Regions from separate parts of the Homo sapiens genome. Here region 1 is linked to region 2. Evidence: promoter capture Hi-C in human tissues and cell types (Jung and others, 2019). All regions are on one chromosome and are shown on one strand. The core of a region is centred on a gene start or on the middle of the fragment in contact, and the rest is flanking DNA. Distances in the headings are between cores, read along the strand shown.

The links. Contacts are between HindIII fragments. The study calls those that stand out against the background at their distance.
Region 1: a fragment that was not itself captured here is called in contact with the fragment with the promoter of NEUROG2 in region 2 in 1 of the 25 tissues and cell types used here (thymus).

Annotation. Positions count from the first base shown.
Region 1 is chr4:112,910,425-112,913,350 of GRCh38, reverse strand. It overlaps a transcript of ANK2 not described here. Among named protein-coding and RNA genes, the nearest start is that of ANK2-AS1, 130 kb to the left of the region's middle. The HindIII fragment of the contact is 4,274 bases long and covers 1-2,926 here.
Region 2 is chr4:112,514,918-112,517,679 of GRCh38, reverse strand. NEUROG2 (neurogenin 2) reads left to right here and starts at 1,500. Exons shown (of 2, transcript NM_024019.4): 1 at 1,500-1,833; 2 at 2,204-2,762. The coding sequence starts at 2,205. NEUROG2-AS1 (NEUROG2 and ZGRF1 antisense RNA 1) reads right to left here and starts at 2,301. Exons shown (of 4, transcript NR_161159.1): 1 at 2,040-2,301. It overlaps LOC124900760 (a long non-coding RNA gene), which reads right to left and starts at 875. Exons shown (of 2, transcript XR_007058231.1): 1 at 641-875. RefSeq lists enhancers at 279-398, 499-598, 1-729 and silencers at 739-1,018, 2,339-2,408, 2,669-2,762. The HindIII fragment of the contact is 15,153 bases long and covers 1-2,762 here.

The DNA.
Region 1 (2,926 bases), core at 123-2,622, 400 kb before region 2:
TATTGACTTTACATATTCAACAGGAAAAATAATTATACTAGTCAAAATCCTTTACAATAAGCTTCATTTTACCATAAAACTCTACATTACAGAAAGGTAATTAAGTATCCATTACTGGCCATTTACATAAATTTTAATATTCAAGTAATATTTAATATAGCACTATGCTATTATCAAATAATTTGGATGGTTAGAATGGGATTGATCCTAGCAACAATAGATATGAAGAACTCTGTACTCTACCACTGGAGCTAATATGAGTTTTTTTACGGTTACATAGGCATCCCGAGCCTATGTAGTGCACTTTGTTCCAATCATCTACATATTATAACATAAAATTATAAATTTGGAAAAAACCTTAGAGACTTCAGCAGATTTTCAGTCTAGTGCTTCCCCTACCCCACACCACCCCCATCAACATTCATTACATCATGTCTTCCTAGATGTAGTCATTTCTAGAATCTGAAAATTATTTTTTAATATTTATTTATTTATTTATTTTAAAGACATGGTCTCACTATGTTGCCCAGGCTGGACTTGAACTCCTGGGCTCTAGCTATCCTCCCACCTCAGCCTCCCAAGTAACTGGGACTAGAACCTAAAAATTATTTAATTTACATATACATATCTCTACTTCACTCTGGTCACATGGCTGACTTCTTCCTAATAATATCAAAATAAATTAGGCTGCTCACAAATTTGGTCTTCTAGAAACCATAGTGTGGGCTATCCTCTATTAAGCTCTCATAATTGTGTGATATTTTCCAGGTTACTTTTCTAGGAATATATATTTTTACTTTGGGATTCCCCACTTAAAAGATAAGAAAATGGGAGGGATAGGAAAATCATAATATACACCACCCCTTACCCCACTCAAAAAATGGCAACTAGATTAATTTTCTTAAATTCAATATTACACGAGTGAAATTTTGCTTGGGAACTTTTAAGTAGGAATAAATGGCTTCTAAAGTAATATGTTTTATCAGGGTATCAGGGTTTGGTCATCTTTTCATAGAAAATAAGTATGTTTGGAAACAACTGGCTCACATAACCGGTTCCTTCTCTTTTTCCAATTGTTGTCACTTAAAAAATATTCATCAGAAAGTGGAAAATTTGTTTTGAACTGCACTTGCCGTCCCTAAAGTGCCACATCAGTTTCTTTTTTTTTTTTTTTGAAACGGAGTCTCGCTCTGTCACCCAGGCTGGAGTGCAGTGGCACGATCTTGGCTCACTGCAAACTCCACCTCCGGGGTCCACACCATTCTCCTGCCTCAGCCTCCCGAGTAGCTGGGACTACAGGCGCCCGCCACCACGTTCGGCTAATTTTTTGTATTTTTAGTAGAGACGGGGTTTCACTGTGTTAGCCAGGATGGTCTCGATCTCCTGACCTCGTGATCCACCTGCCTCAGCCTCCCAAAGTGCTGGGATTACAGGCGTGAGCCACCACGCCTGGCCCACATCAGTTTCTTAACAACAAAGAAGACATAATTATTAACACAATAATCAATTAAACAGATGTATTTTTAGCTAACTCACTTTAAAAACTTAAACTATTTTTCTAGCTAACTCAAATATTCTCTAAATATCTGATGTAGATAGCTTTTTTCTTTTTTTATCTCAATGACCTGACAAAATATATAGAGCAACTTTAGCTTCTCTCTAGTGTCAATGACAACATAATAAGGAAAAACATAGCAACAGAGTTTGTTTAAAAATATATTGATAATGGCAGCCAGGTGTGGGCACGCACCCATAGTCCCAGCTATTCAACAGGCTGAAGTGGGAGGATCTCTTGAGCCCAAGAGTTCAAGTCCAGCTTGGGCAACATAGTGAGATATATCGCTCTGTTGCCCAGGCTGGAGTGCAGTGGTTCGATCTCCGCTCACTGCACGCTCCGCCTCCCAGGTTCACGCCATTCTCCTGCCTCAGCCTCCGGAGTATGAGGAAGTACAGGTGCCAACCACCACGCCCGGCTAATTTTTTGTATTTTTAGTAGAGACGGGGTTTCACCGTGTTAGCCAGGATGGCTAACTAGATTAGTTAACTATATCTCCTGACCTCGTGATCCGCCCGCCTCGGCCTCCCAAAGTGTTGAGATTACAGGCATGAGCCACTGCGCCCAGCCGAGATATACCATCTCTAAAAAAAAAAAAAAAAAAAAAGCACCATCTTGGCCAACATGGTGAAACCCCGTCTCTACTAAAGTCTCTACTAAAAATACAAAAATTAGCTGGGCATGGTGGCTCATGCCTGGAATCCCAGCTACTCGGGAGGCTGAGGCAGGAGAATTGCTTGAACCCGGGAGTCGGACGTTGCAGTGAGCTGAGATCGTGCCACTGCACTCCAGCCTGTCGACAGAGCGAGACTCCATCTAAAAAAAAAAAAAAAAAAAAGGCAAATAATAAACAAAAGTCTTCAAATTATAAACCAAATGGTTTGAGCTTCTGCCAATTATGATAAATTATTTTGGGAGCACAAATGGGTATTAAAAACTTTTTAAAAGAAGGCTAAATATAGAATTCTCTTTCAACATTTTTTTAAACATTGCCTCTAAAATCTCTTAATAGTTGTCTTCCAAATATTATCCTCTTTCTAAGGTAAAAAAGACAAAAGATAATTAGTTCCTCTGGAAGTCTCTATGTTTGCCTGATGGTACTGAGCAGAAATATGCATATTTGCAGATCTGCCAAGTGCAACCCATTTTGCTGGACAATTCCCAGTGCATTGAATCTCTGCCAAAAAAATAAGCTGGGTGTTGAAAGTTCCTTTTTATCCGTCTGCAGAATTTCACTTTCTCCCTCTGCTGGCTGCCACAGACCCCCTTTACAGATATTAGGTTTAGATGTGCAATGAAACACACATTTGTTCTCTTTAAGTTTTACGATAATGAATACTTCAGTACCCCTTTCTTATAAGTGTTTCTCTT
Region 2 (2,762 bases), core at 251-2,750:
TTCTCTTTCCCTTCTACTCTTCCACTCCTAACACTCCAACTGTGCCTTGCCTAAAGTTAATTTGCAAAGGGGATCTCAAGGGACGCCACTCCGGTCTACTGAAGTCCGGATCCATCCCCATGTCGACAAGAGGGTGGGCATGAACGTGGGGAAAGTGGGGAGGGCTAACGAGCAATTGAGAACAAGTTTCCCCCGAGGTCCAGTAGCCCTTCAGCTCTTTTTTCTCATTGAAAAGCAGAATTGGGAAGATGGGCCCCTTGTCCCTACAACGCCCCCCAGCGCGGAGCAGAGGTCACAGAAATGTCAGCGCAGCGCATTTGCTTGCAGGAGCAGCAGCTCTGCCGCTCCTCCCGCTCGGTTCGCTGCCACCCACGCAGGAAGCCTCCTTGCTGTCCCTCCAGGCTATAAACTGGGTTAACCCCAGCAAAACCTGCATCAGTGCCCGGAGCCTCAGTTTCCTGTATGTAAAATGAGGGGGATCCTTTCAGCTCTAACATGTGAGTGATTTCATTCTCACATCCTCTAAAAGCTCATCAACTGCTCCCCTATCCGACCTCCCCTCCCAAGAGACGCCTGTTTGAATCCCCAGTGTCCTCTCCCTTCACTCTCCCACGCCAGTTTCGACGGACCCCAAACACACTTGTTCACGAGGTGTCCACATCTCTCCATCCACGCCATTCTCCTCCCCTAACCAAATGAATCCATTTTAAAATCGTTTACTATTTGATACAACCCCTAAGAGGCTTTGCCAAGAGACGCCCGGCAGCACCACAGGGCTAACTGCTTTCCCCGGGATTCTGACCCCCATTAACTAATTCCTAGTTCCCATCACCCGGGAGTTAGGAGGGCCGGCAGCGCCGGGTGCGGTGCCTGCGCGCGCGCCGGGCGGGGGGAGCCTCGGCGGCAGCGAGGACGAAGGCGGGGGCGGTAGCACGGGTCCCCCCATCCGCCCCCAGCGCTCGGGCCCCTAATGAGCTGCTGAAAGGGAGCGGGCTCCGGTGCGCGTGGCTCGCAGGCCTCCCGGAGTCCAGGGCGCCCTGATTGGCCAGCTGCGCCTCGCGACCTCCATTCATTAATAAATTAGCGGCACGCTCCAGCCGAGCGCGAGCCACCAATCACAATGGACAGCGGCGGCGACAACAGCCGCAGCTTGAGCCTCTGCGGCCGCTGCGGCTTCGCCAGCTCCGGCCGCAGCCCGGAGCTCCAACAGGAGCTTTAGAACCATTTTATGTTGATTAGATAAAGGGGGAAAAGAGAGGCGGGGGTGGTGGGAGGAGGAGGATGGATGGCAGGGCCAAGGGAGGGGGAAAGGCGGTGAAGAAAGAGGAAGAAATGAATGATGATAATGCAATGAAAAGAATAAGCCAGAGGAGGGAAAAGCGGGGGAGAAGGGGGGCAGGACTGACAGGAGGAGGAGGCGGTGGCGGGGGAGGAGGGGGCCCGGGGCAGATCTGATTGTTTTCTTGGTGGTATATAAGGGGTTTTAAGGAGAGTCGTGTGCCAGACACGCAGCCACTGAACCACAAGCAGCTTCGCGTTAACTGGAGTGCCTGGGAGTCGCGTGCCAGGAGCCGCACGGCCAGGGACTGACTGACAGACAGACACGCACCACCACCACAACACACGAGACCCGGGCGGGCCGCCGCCGCCGCCGCCGGGGCTCTTGGCAAACTCGCCGGTCGCAGAGGTCCCCCGCGGAGCTGCGCCACAGTAGCGCCGGGCTTGCAGCTTTCACGCCGGGCGAAGGACCCGGCGCTGCGCTCGCAGCTGCGCGGAGATTCCCGGCACAGGCCAAAGTCACAGCAACGCTGAGGCACAGTTAGAGCCAACTAAGTAAGTATTCGAGCCACCGCTTCCAACTACGCAGGTGGTTTCCCCGCACTCAGTCCAACCACACCCGCACGCCCTCTGCTCCGCGCAGAATCTTTGTCGCGGAGGCCGCAGTCCCTTCTCGGGGAGGGAACGCAGGACCGCCCGCGGAGGGCAGGACCCGGCTGACTGGCAGCAGGGTCACAGCGAGCGCTAGCGGCGCTCCTGACCTTGGTTAGCACTGCCTGGGTTTCTTCCTTCGCCTTCCTGCTCCGCGCCATTCGGAGCTGGTCTTCTCGGGTGCGCGCCGGAGCACGCCCCTGTGACACGAAGATCGCGCCTCTGTTTCTTTCCTTACACCTCACTGCCTTTTTCCCCTTTCTCTCTTCGGTAGGATGTTCGTCAAATCCGAGACCTTGGAGTTGAAGGAGGAAGAGGACGTGTTAGTGCTGCTCGGATCGGCCTCCCCCGCCTTGGCGGCCCTGACCCCGCTGTCATCCAGCGCCGACGAAGAAGAGGAGGAGGAGCCGGGCGCGTCAGGCGGGGCGCGTCGGCAGCGCGGGGCTGAGGCCGGGCAGGGGGCGCGGGGCGGCGTGGCTGCGGGTGCGGAGGGCTGCCGGCCCGCACGGCTGCTGGGTCTGGTACACGATTGCAAACGGCGCCCTTCCCGGGCGCGGGCCGTCTCCCGAGGCGCCAAGACGGCCGAGACGGTGCAGCGCATCAAGAAGACCCGTAGACTGAAGGCCAACAACCGCGAGCGAAACCGCATGCACAACCTCAACGCGGCACTGGACGCGCTGCGCGAGGTGCTCCCCACGTTCCCCGAGGACGCCAAGCTCACCAAGATCGAGACCCTGCGCTTCGCCCACAACTACATCTGGGCACTCACCGAGACCCTGCGCCTGGCGGATCACTGCGGGGGCGGCGGCGGGGGCCTGCCGGGGGCGCTCTTC